Regions from separate parts of the Homo sapiens genome. Here regions 1, 3 and 4 are each linked to region 2. The links are contacts of gene promoters, found by promoter capture Hi-C in blood cells and fetal thymus (Javierre and others, 2016). All regions are on one chromosome and are shown on one strand. Each heading gives the region's core, a stretch centred on a gene start or on the middle of the fragment in contact. The rest is flanking DNA. Distances are from core to core; before and after follow the strand shown.

Region 1 (3,130 bases), core at 397-2,896, 790 kb before region 2:
TGAAATATATTATTCAATATCAAACAAGTAATTAGTTATGTTACTATGTCCTTAGTTATGTTACTATTGTGTCATGCAGGCACAGAAGATAAACCAAATAATAAGAGAAATATGGCCGCGGCCTTTGGGAATCTCATTTTCTAATCAGCAGAATAGGAATATTTTAGCATGATCCCCTCACTACCCCTAAAAACCAAGGGGCCAGTAAGGAGGATAGTGGGACAATGTAATCCTCGCACAGGAAAAGTACTGTACAGCAGCAGTACCACTATAACCAACTTCAATCAGAGTTCTCCACGAAGCAATATAGCTAGTACAAGAAATTGAGAAAAAAGCTGAAAACAATAACTATTTTTGACAAAAAACCCACTTTTAAAAATAATAAAGCTCTATCCAATGCATCACAAAATATTCCCAGAAAGCTTCCTGTACACCAAGTATTGTGTAGGATAAAAAGCACAGTCCTTTTCCCATCCAGAGCCATTAGAGAAGATTAAAAACAAGTTACATTAATACAAAAAAAAATAGTTAACATCAGAAGTGATGCCACACTGTTATTTGGCAAAGACATGGCATAACTAAGAGCTGCGAGTTGAAAAATGAACAACACCATGGGCTAGAGAACCTTGGGAAAGTTCAACAGAATAGGTGTGACTTGACAAAGTCCTTTCTACCATTTACAGGTAGAAGAGAGGCGGAACAAAACTGAAGGCGGTTATGGAAGACAGGACAGCGCCTGTGATGCTTGGGAGCAAGAAGTATGCTCCCCAGAAAACTGTGGAGGGATTTAACCAAGCCAAAGAATCTGCACCTTCATTTGGAGGGTGAGAAACGAGTTAAAGAATGTGCACCCTCACTTGGGTTCTAGCGGGGCGAGGGTGTTACCTGATGCTTGTGAGAATGCAGTTCCCTCAATCAGCGGGCCAAGAACCAAGAATAAAGTTTCATTTGCCGACTAGAAATACCCGTATTATTACATGAAACGCTACAGCAGATTAGCAGACAAATGCCAAACTGGCCATAAAACAACATAAGCAACACCTGCTCTCAGGTTTTTCAAACTGACGCCGTCCCAGCGCCCCTGGTAAAGAGAATGATTAAGCTTCCACTCTGGGGCCGCAGCTCATCTTTCACCAAGAAACCTCGGCGAACCTGCGACTGACGCGTTGCCAGCCTCCGCAAGAACAACTCTGCCCAGCAAGTGGAGCTGGGGATGAGGGAAAACTTCATGATAAGGGTAAAGAACTCGAACCCAGGCTCTGCGGACGTCCCCAAGCTGTCCGGGTCCCTGGACCCCGCAGGAATCAAGGGGAACCGAGAGAGGACGGAGGAGAACGCGAGAGGCCGGATCCACCCCTACAGATGAAGATCCAAAGTGAGTCAAGTCCTCCGCGACCCGCCCCCTGAGGAGCTGGCTACTCTAGGGTATCCTGGCCGGCCCCTCTCCTCCTCTGCACCCCAGCCCTCGGCCGCGGCTCCCTCGAGCGCGCCCAGGTGCCCTTCTCGAACCCCTCACCCATGATGAACCCCCTGTCCTCCCTCGCCGATCTTCAGTGATTCCTTGGCCTTCGGCTGCAGCTCCGAGGCGGTTTCCTCGCAAGCCCAGTCAGCCAGCAACTTCCACGTCGGACTCCAGGCGGGGGCGGGAGCGAGGGTCAGCTGCGACTGCGCGCCGGGAACGGTGGCCTGAGCATCCGCGTCGTCGCTTTCGACTCACGGTCCCCGCTCACTGGATGTAGATACCGTGGAGGCCAGAAGAGACGAATAATTCAAAAACCTGAAGTCTCTCCTGCTTGTGTTTTTCTGGACAGAAAGAGCTTCTGAAATAGAGAAATTGGAATTTTTGTTTTAAATTCTGACACCAAAAAGTGGCGAATCTGACAACTGAAAATGCGAGTCGGGCCTCGATGAGTCGTCCCGGTCGAACGCTGGCGCAGGCTGCGGCGTTGCAGAGGACGCGTGTCCCGGAGCGCCCTGCGGGGCCAGCCCAACTCTCCCTAGGTGCTTTCTCCCAGAAAGAAACAAGACTACGTAATAATAATAGGAATGGTACCGCGCTGCCAATGCGGAGCAGCCTTGCACCTGAGGCCAGTAACCAGAGGTTTTTGTCTTCGCTGTGGCCTGCAGGACGAGGACCTCGCCGGCTTTTTTTCTCGCTGACCGAGCAGCTGAGACCGCCTTTCAGGGGTCGGCAGTGTGGACTGGCTGGTCCCGATCGTGGGGACCAGGGACTTATTCCCTCGAGGGTCGACTGTTGGAAGTAATGTAGGTTTTGATAGTGAAGTGTGTGGAGAGGAAGAAGGAAGCACACCTATAGGATGTGGAGAAGGGATTTCCCCTAGAGAAATTTTTAAAGGTTGAGCATGTATGTTTTGAAACTTCCCAAAGATCCATTGAAAAGTGAACCTTCCGGCCGGGCGCGGTGGCTCACGCCTGTAATCCCAGCACTTTGGGAGGCCGAGGCGGGCGGATCACGAGGTCAGGAGATCGAGACCATCGTGGCTAACACGGTGAAACCCCGTCTCTACTAAAAATACAGAAAATTCACCAGGCGTGGTGGCGGGCGCCTGTAGTCCCAGCTACTCAGGAGGCTGAGGCAGGAGAATCACTTGAACTCAGGAGGCAGAAGTTGCAGTGAGTCGAGATCGTGCCACTGCACTCCAGCCTGGGCGACAGAGCGACACTCCGTCTCAAAAAAAAAAAGAGAAAAGTAAACCTTCCATCCCTAATACCCTGTATCTCGGTGATCCCCAGTAGTCACTACTGTTAATACTCTCTTAGGTTTTCTTCCAAATCTTATTAATACCTTTGCATATTATGTTTTTATTTATGGTAGAGATTTTCATCCATTCAACAGAAGCTTATGGACTGCCTTTTTAGTTTATTTTAAAAGAATTTTTCTAGCTTTAAATAAAAATTGTATATATTTACAGTGTACCATGTGATGTTTTCATAGTTGTATATGTTGTGAAATGATAACATACCCATCACCTCACATAGTCGTGTGTGCTTGTGTGTATATGTTTATTTTGTGCTAAGAATATTTAAGGTCGGCCAGGTGTCGTGGCTCAGGCCTGTAATCCCAGCTCTTTGGGAGGCCGAGGCGGGCAGATCCCTTGAGCCCAGGAGT
Region 2 (3,131 bases), core at 504-3,003:
GGAAACAGGTGGATTTGGATGGTGAAAATATTCTCTGTGATAATAGAAATGAACCACCTCAACATAAAAATGCTAAAATACCTAAGAAATCAAATGATTCACAGAATAGATTGTACGGCAAACTAGCTAAAGTAGCAAAAAGTAATAAATGTACTGCCAAGGACAAGTTGATTTCTGGCCAGGCAAAGTTAACTCAGTTTTTTAGACTATAAATTTGTGTCTTATATGCTTTAGGTTTATGTATCTATAAACCATTCACCAAAGACATGCTTAATTTTTAAGAGATCAAGGTGTAAATTATGATGATTTATTATTTTGGTCTACAGTGTATGTAAGGTTAGTATGTTAAGCATTGTTTAAAAATACTAGTAAGTCATAATTATGCAGAATTTTCACAAAGTTTAATGCACAGAGAAAGCATATCATTTCAGTTACTGATACATCTTAACACTACTTTCTTTTAAAACAGACATTTAACATACACAAGTTATAGTAGCAGTATGGGCTTCTCCTCCCATTGGCAATTAAATGCTTTTATTTTCTTCTGAAAAGATGATGTGGACCAACAGGTATCAGACTTGCCAACAAGGTCGGTAGACTCTTCCCAGCATACATCTGAGCACTGAAGGAAGAAGAAAGTTTAAATTGTTTAAAGGACTATAATTATCACACAAAATTTATTAAGAAAAAAAGAATGGATCTAGTATAACTAATTCTGAGTAAACCAAAATGATAATAATTAATTGTTGCTATTTAATCCCACATTTTTGGCAGGTGTAATTGAGCCATGGTCTTATTTGATTTTGTTATGATTGCATCCAAATTCACTTTAACTCAGAGTTCTGTTTAATGGTGGTAGGATGTAAGAATTGAATTTTGAAAAGACTACTCACTGTCAAAATCTCTCCTTCCTATAGGAAATTTAGCTGAGTTTTCTTCATCCCCAATTTCTCTCTTTTCTTGTGTTGATTCAGTATTCTGAACTCCATTCTCAGCTGGGAAAGCTACAGATCCTTTTAGTGCAAGATAAGGTTTTATAGCCAGATTCAGTGGCAGACCATGATTTAAGAAATTATGTTTGGAGCCTGTGTTCTGTAAAGAGAAGGTTGATTTGGTTTTTAGCTATCGTATTCGGAGTGGAACTATAATACAATTGTATAATATTCTTGTTGATCAATTCAAAGTTACTCTGCACTGTTTTTGACTTTTTAAAAATACCTTAGATGCAAATTTATAGGAGAAAAAACACTTTCAGATAAGAGGTGTTTGCTGGGATGGAAGAACTACCTGGCATGTAAGAAATATCGTCAGTCGTCCTAATGCATATTGTGACTGTTTGCATATACTTCTGTTTATAAAAGTATCAGTTTTACTTTTCAGAGGATTTGTAAGAATCATTTAAATTTTCATTGAAATAAACGACAAGTCACATTGCCACTTACCTTTGAAACTTTATTTTCCTCTTCGTTCATGAAACTGCTCTCATCATTTTTATATTGTTCCAGGGAAGGAGCAATAACTGATTTTTCTGCAGTGTCTTCCTTCTGAAAGCCTTTCCCCAACCTGAATGTATTAAATACCATGTCATCATCTAAATTTCTTATGGACTTGGATGCTGAAAGTAAAATACCTTGAGAAAACAAAGAAAAAGTTAGTATTAATATATAGGAAGAGAGATTCATTTTTGCCATTCTTAGTTTGATGTTTGCATACAGTCAAACAAGAAAGAAAATGAAAAATTTCTCTGTCAGCCTGCTTGGTAAACGATTCTGTATCTTTATATATTTTCTAGCTTGAATAGAAAGCACTTCAAAGAATTATACTTTTCATCATTTTAGAAATGACTCATTAGATTGAGGCTAACCTTTATGCAGCTGCTAATACCTACATTGTTTTGGTTTTAGTGACACATTGTTTATTTTGAGTGTGAATTTTCTCAGAATCTGACTAAGATCCTTGGTAGAATGCTTTCTGTTGAGTAGATTATAGTCTCTTGAAAATGGGTTGTTATTAAGGAAGACCACAGGACATCAGGCTCTCTCTATATTATTGTTTCCTTTTGTGTATTTTCTGATTAAGTAAAGATATTAAAACTCAAGTTATTTCACTCAAGGATGATAAGGATAAAGTTTTATTTCCTTTTAATCCTGATTAAACTGAAATAATCCTCAAAAGAGACTTTCTTTTATAAATACTTGATATAGTTTTTGGTGATTAAAGTACATATGCCTGTCAGTGTGAACAAAAAGCCATTCATGCTATATCAAAAATTGACCTGTCAGGTGTATTTTATCTCTGCATTTACAAAAGGATAATATGTACAAATATTTATTAATGAATTTAGAAATTAATGAATTAGTCCATGAAAAGAATATTTATGTGCCCATAAACATTACTTTTGGATGATGAGTTTATGTTGTATGACTTTTAATTAAACATTTCAGAGTTAATTTCTAATTTTGACCCCAATGAATAAGATAATACATTCTTTTATATGTCTTCTGGTACATATATGTAAGAATTTTTCTAGAGTATATTTCTCAGTATGGAATTACTGGATCATGGAGTATGTATATGTTCAGCTTTACTAATGCCAAAATGTTTTCCAACATAGTTGTAAGCGATTTGTGCCCTCGATAAGCAGGGTATGAGAATTTCCATTGTTCCATGTCCTAGCTGACTCTTGTGTCTCATTGTCCTTTTAATTTGTATTTTCCTAATTACCAAAGAGGTTAAGTGTCTTCCCATATGTTTCTGAGCCATTTATGTTTCCTCTTATGTTAAATGCTTTTTTTTTTTTTCTTTTTTGGCTTTGTCCATTTTTCTATTGGGTTGTCTTTTTCTAATTTATTTATGGGAGTTCTTTATATATTCTGGATATTAATTGTTAGTTATATATGTTTCAATTATTTTCGCTCAGTTTGTGACATATTTTCAACCCCTCTGGTGTCTTTTGGTGAACCAAACTGATTAATTTTAATGTTTAAATATTTTTCTTTTTTCTTTATGGCAACTACTTTTAATGTGTTGTTTTTTTTTAGAAATCCTTCTCAATCCTTAGATTATTAACGTGTTTTCATATATTTTCTTCTAAAAGTTTAAATATTTTGACTTTCATGTTTAGGTTTGTA
Region 3 (3,109 bases), core at 166-2,665, 520 kb after region 2:
ATTAATGACACTAACACCCAGGCCACTGATACCGGATTTAGGACATTTCCACTGGCACCACTGGACTGCAACCATAGGAACTTGATCTTGCTTGACCTATAGTAGATTCTACAGGGTCCCTATTTCTTAGTGTCAGTAGCTCCTAATTTAGAAATTTACCTGGCTTCATTTATTTGGTAGATTCTAGACCTCATGCTTAAAGTTCAGCTGTAAAGGAGGTTGGAGAAATGATATTTGCTTTCCAAAGTGGGAGGTGAGCCATACCTCCTATGAAGACTCATACAAGGAAGGGTATTTTCCAAACATTGGAAGGAATTTCAAATATTAGCCAGCCAAAAAGAACGATTCTGCACAACTAAGTCAAAATTCAAACCCAGATTTCTCTAACAGCAAAATCCAAACTTTCAACCACCATCCTGAAAGGCTCATAATTTGTAGTAAGAAATCCGGCTTCCAAATTTTTAAGACAATAGAGCTCCCAACTGATTCCAGGGGGATAAAAACACTATTATATGTATTTCTAATTCATTCTCCGCCCTCCTTCTCTTTAGAGGTTTTGTCAAGGGTCTGGTGGCATTCCCACTAGGTGGATTGACCAAGAGGTGGCATTATTTTCTTTGACAACTGTGCTGACAGTTTTATAAGTTGAAATAAAAAAGTTCTGTTATCTATTGAGCAGTGTACATTCCTATATGGACAGATGTGATGGTGTGAAGTGAGCTTTGGAATTGGAATGATTACAAAAGGCCCTTTACCTCCCCTTCCTCACCTGACATGTTTCCATTAAAATGGTGCATCTCAGCTGAACTGTTCAGCTGTTCTCTGCCCGTGCTCACTCCGACAGCCCCTCATCCCTTGGGTAGGAGTGGCAAATCAGGATGATGAGAACCTAGGCCATTTCTTCTTACTAATGGGTGTAGTCTCCTCTATTTCTTACTCGCGTTGCCTCTAACCCTTGTTTCCTATCTCCATGTGGAAACACTGACACCTGGGAAATGTCACCATCCTCTTTTAGCTGCTCTCCTCTGGGGTCAGGTAGGAGGTGAGGTGGACTTGTGACTGGCTGGACATGTAAGCTTAGTGGCTAACTGGAGACCCATCCCTTGCTACAGGAGTCTCCAGGTCTGGATCTAGAGAGAGAAGAGTCTCATTTTGTGTTCCTCAATGTAGACAATTTCTACTTTATTGGGTCATGGATAAAGTCAATATTTTGGTTCTCATTTGGCTATTGCGCATGAATTAGTTTTAGGCTCTGAGGAAATTTCAGAGTCAGGACCCTTGGATTCAAATATATCTACTTAATACATTTGGCAAAGCAGTTAACTCTCCTGAGTCTCAGTTTCCTCAGCTATAAAGCAGGAATAGTATCACCTGCTTTGCATATATATAACCACAGTAAGGGCTAAAAGAGATTTCATGTATTAAATGTGTTACATGACCAGGCCTAGGGTAGGTATTCAAACCACATGAGCTATAAAGGAATTTTAGAAATGACAGGGACTATTTACCTTTTAAAAGAATAATAGCTAGTCGAAACTGGTAAAAGAGAAAATCAGTCTAAGTTCTAATATAGTAGCACTTAGAAAAAAATGTTTATTGAATTGCATGTCATTTTCTCCTTTAAAAGTAACTATTATTTATTGAGGACTTACTCTAGACCAAACACTTTACCAATATTATCTCATGTAACCCTCACAAGAAACCTTTGAATTCAGTTCTATTATAAGCAGTCCCATTTTGCGGATGAGAAAACTGAAGCTTAGAGATGTTAAGTAGTGCAGTGGCAGGCCTGGTGGTGGAGGTTGGGCCTGTCTGGATCCAGGATCAGTACTCATAACTACATACTGTCCTGAGGGCACAAAGGAAAATTTGGCTCTTTCCCTCCCATCCCATAATTCACATCCCCAAACGGTGGAATGCGAATGAGGGAAAGTGAACTTTCCCTGTGAGCTGTAGATCAGAATTCAAGCCCAAGTTTGTTAGCTGTAACACCTGCAATCTGAGATTCTAAGCAATATCACCTTTTGTCCTGAGTTCTGTGTAACTTGTCTGCACAGATGGATGTGTTCCAAATTCTGGCACTGAGGTCCATAAGAGAACGGTGAGATGTGGCACTAACTGCTCAGGCCATCTGGATAACCTGTCAGGACTCCTTGGTTTGTTTACTCATCTCAGTTGGCTACATAAGTGGTAAGGAAAGTGGTCAGGGGCCTGGTTTCATTTGGAGAGCTCTGGGCTGTTATCTTGCTAGGTTTTCCCCTTCTTCTGAGTGTGATACCTATTCAGGGACAAAGTTCTGTTGAATAAGCAAGCTGTGTTTGAAGGCAGCCATCCAGGTCCAGAACAGTCCACCTATTCAGAATCTGATCTCTTGACAATGGGGGCTCTCAGGGTTATTGTTATGATAATATGTTCTAACTCTTTCTTCCCAGAGCCAGGTAGGTTCCCATGAAAAGAGTGGAGTTGGCGTTGGATATTGTTTCTAGTAGCAGTTTTCCTGGTATGGGCGACAGGGACTCAGCGGTAAGATCGACTCTTACTAAATGGGTCCTGGCAAGGGCTGAAGGTGGGGAGTGGGTGCAGTGAGGTAAGCACAGGCCTGCTGGGGACCCTGCACAACCATGATGACCACACACAGTGATCCTGGAAGGAAGGATCTACAGGGCTAGGAAGAAACTCTGTCGTGTGTGTGTGTGTGTGTGTGTGTGTGTGTGTGCGTGCGTGCGTGCGTGCGTGATGGAGGAGTCTCATCAGACCTAAAATGGAGCCTAGATCTTAGTTCATGTGATAAAAGAGTTAAGCTCCCTTTAGCCTTGTCTCCCTTTTTTTAGTCCTTAAGTTCTGACTTCAGGCTTTTCAGTGTCTTAAGGTCTGAGTTCATTACGTTGGTAATTGTAATTACCAATGTAATGCCAATATCCTCAATTCACAGTCATTCATTCATTTATTAAAAATGATTGATCAAGTACTTCTCATTTGTTAGGCAGTCTGCTAGGTGTTTCAGGGCAAGACTACCATGCACAACCCACACAACTATCCATGGCTATCCTTCTTTAGAAAACAAAAGATAAAAACATGATGTAGTCTCTGCTGCAACAGACTTAGTGTC
Region 4 (2,931 bases), core at 154-2,653, 540 kb after region 2:
TAGGGCTGGACTCTGGAGGTCTGAGGAAGCTTGATTTGATGCTGAAGCCCATTGGAAGGGCAAACCCTAGAGTTGAGGCTGCAGGGCCTCCCCTCCTGCCCTCAGCTCTTATTCTACCCCACCTTCTGCTCGTGGCTCATCTGTCTCTCTCCTTCCCAGGTGGGGAGCTCAGCTGTTCTGAAAAACAAAATAGGAAGTCACTTATATGCCCTGGAGCCCTGCTTTTGTAATTCTGATACAGGGCATTAGACCTAATTTAATTTGAAAATAATATAGTAAGATGAAAGGAAATCCCACTTGAGCTTCTCATTTTAAAAAGAGTTCAAAAAAAGATAAAGTAAGCCTGAGAACCTCAAAGAAGGCCCTCTGGTCAATAGAGGCAGACAGGCCAGATGTTTTTGCCATCTGTGTCTTGTCCCCTCTGACATGGGGCTAGCTGAGGGAGAGAGGCACACAACAGAAGAGCAGGCTAGCTTGCTAATACTGCCCTCTTATTTAGCTCATGGAAATGTCATAACATCTAAGGTCTTACTTTCCCTCTGGATTTGAGGGGAAAACATCTATAGTCCTCTTGAACTCATTTCATGGAAGGAACTTTGTTACAGTGCAAAATTTCACCAAAGATTAATTGAACTTGACATCCTGAATGTCTTTTGCACAATGTACTAAAGTGGATTTTTTTTTTAAAAATGTCAGTATCTGATCCTTGGTGTGTGGTTTTTAGATGTCCAAAGTATTCCCACTTCTCAAATTCCCTTTAAGAAGCTGGAATGCAATGCATTTCTGAGTGTTCTTTATTTCAGTTGAATCCCCACCTTGCTATAGCAGTACTAAATATACTTAAAATCAACAATTCATCACAATAAAAAAAAAATACTGAGTGATATCCAGAGTGGCTGGCCTTCGTTCAACACCAACCATTCTCTAGTTTACGGGAAATTAGGATCACAGGCCAGCTTTACATTAACTGGAAAGTGTACGCTACCATCTTGTGGACAAAATATCAATAACACTGAAATATACTCAAGACAACTTACCATCTCTTTTGTATTACAGTGAACATTTATTTTGTCCTGGGTTCCCACATGCACTCATGGTGACCATTCCATGCAATTTAGAACTTTGGCACTGAATTATCTTTGTTAATAAATTGGGTACAGTTCAACATGAAGAAAAGCGAGCTTACCAAGAAAATTTTGGAACCCAAATACCAGAGACCTGGATCCTCATGTAACCTTCGCCTTTGATTCTTGCCTCTTCAGTTTTCACTTTTCTAAATGCAAAATGCAAGTGTTGATTCTGGTCATCTTATACTGAACACATAGGTTTTTGGTTGGTGTTGACAGGGTTAGATTTTTATAATATCCCGAGGAGTTGAACGTTATGATCCCAAGAGAAATTAATTTATTAACCAGTTGTTCTTTAACTGATACAAAAATTAGTTACTCTTCTCCTGGATGGTTTGCACATGAACATACAGGTGCATATCTCACTTGCTATGGTACCAAACAATGACATCATAGGATGCAGAAGGAGATGGTGTCATCACAGCTGTATGACATGAAAGTTATAGGATCACAGCATCTTAGGGTAGGCAAGGACCATCAAGTTCATTAAATTCAATTACATTTCTAATGCGTGAATCACTTGTATAATATCCAATTGCTTGTTGAATCTCTTCTTCTAGAATATAAGAAAGTACTTGAAAAGGGGACCACGTAAAAGACAGGAAAACAGGAGATTTCTATTCCAAATTTCTAAGGATGCTTTTTTTTATTGCTGTTGTTTGCTAATAGATATTATGACAGTTGGTAACTAGAGAATCTCTAAGGAAGAATCTGTAACTATCAGTCTCCTACCCTTGATGTTGTGGTTCTAGTCTATTTACAGTATGCCAAATAGCTTCTTGCCCACTGGAGCTCAGAAGACCTTCTAAAGTTAGAACTTTCCAGTGTTAAAAGTTTCTACTACAAGCTAAGGGTCTGTTGTATTCCCTCAATTCTTCCTTTAAGCCGTCATATCTAAGTTAGAAACATGTGCAAGTATGTGTGTTTGTGTGTTTGTGTGTTTTTCTGTGTGTGTCCATATACTTGTGTGTGTGTGTGTGTTCTCGGTGTTTTTCTTACTTGTAGGAAAATGATGACTCTCTCCCACCCCCAATTTGGTACTAGTGGCAAAGCATCATTTAAGAGGGCCACACACTGGTCATTTTTGTTATGAGCAAAAAATATAACTGGTCTTACACAGTTTTCCTTCCTGTTAAAAAAAGGAGTAATCTGTATCTTCTCTACCTCCCATAGATATATTTTGACAATTACGATACCACCATCTTTCATTAGCTCATTAATCTAAATATATATGTTTCTATTACAACATTGCTTACATAACAGAGAGCCAATTTCAAAAGAAGTATGTTCACCCCATTTAACTATTCATGCTGAAGCACTGAGTTTTGCAAATAGAAAAGCCCTAAAGCTACAACAAGATGATGACAATGATGACAGCAACAGTAACAGAGACAATACAACACTTAGACAGGCATTTGTTCCCAGTACTGGGTCTGAGGAGGACAGGTGAGAAATAGAAATGTAACTGACTACAAGTGAGTGACTGGACCAGGGATTCCAGAGCAATTCCGCTTGCCTTTGTATTTCAAGGTTCTTGACCCTCCTCTTCAGGAGTATATTATGGGTTATTATTTTTTTTTTTTTCATTTTATCTTGTGGCAAAAGTATAAATGTGGTCTCTGAAGAGAGGTCATTATTTTAAAAGGTCTGAGAAGCTTTAAAAAAGCTGTGATCCCACCCAAATCTCAACTTGAATTGTATCTCCCAGAATTCCCACGTGTTGTGGGAGGGACCCAGGGAAATGTAATTGAATCATGAGGGCCGGTCTTTCCCGTGCTATTCTCGTGATAGTGAATAAGTCTCA

The links. The method cuts DNA at HindIII sites, captures the fragments that hold promoters and counts their contacts. A CHiCAGO score of 5 or more calls a contact.
Region 1: a contact is called between the fragment with the promoter of ARL1 here and the fragment with the promoter of PMCH in region 2, in 3 of 17 cell types (neutrophils, monocytes and total B cells). The highest score is 8.6, in neutrophils.
Region 3: a contact is called between a fragment that was not itself captured here and the fragment with the promoter of PMCH in region 2, in 1 of 17 cell types (M1 macrophages). The highest score is 5.2, in M1 macrophages.
Region 4: a fragment that was not itself captured here is called in contact with the fragment with the promoter of PMCH in region 2 in 1 of 17 cell types (M0 macrophages); the score reaches 5.9 in M0 macrophages.

Annotation. Positions count from the first base shown.
Region 1 is chr12:101,406,126-101,409,255 of GRCh38, forward strand. It overlaps ARL1 (ARF like GTPase 1), which reads right to left and starts at 1,647. Exons shown (of 6, transcript NM_001177.6): 1 at 1,517-1,647. The coding sequence starts at 1,520. RefSeq lists enhancers at 1,130-1,179, 1,260-1,309. The HindIII fragment of the contact is 1,758 bases long and covers 1,101-2,858 here.
Region 2 is chr12:102,196,080-102,199,210 of GRCh38, forward strand. It overlaps PMCH (pro-melanin concentrating hormone), which reads right to left and starts at 1,754. Exons shown (of 3, transcript NM_002674.4): 1 at 1,443-1,754; 2 at 894-1,092; 3 at 380-622. The coding sequence starts at 1,691. The coding sequence ends at 573. It overlaps PARPBP (PARP1 binding protein), which reads left to right. Exons shown (of 11, transcript NM_017915.5): 11 at 1-1,441. The coding sequence ends at 212. The HindIII fragment of the contact is 15,261 bases long and covers 1-3,131 here.
Region 3 is chr12:102,720,058-102,723,166 of GRCh38, forward strand. No RefSeq gene overlaps it. Among named protein-coding and RNA genes, the nearest start is that of LINC00485, 100 kb to the right of the region's middle. RefSeq lists an enhancer at 1,995-2,632. The HindIII fragment of the contact is 682 bases long and covers 1,075-1,756 here.
Region 4 is chr12:102,739,878-102,742,808 of GRCh38, forward strand. No RefSeq gene overlaps it. Among named protein-coding and RNA genes, the nearest start is that of LINC00485, 83 kb to the right of the region's middle. The HindIII fragment of the contact is 2,753 bases long and covers 28-2,780 here.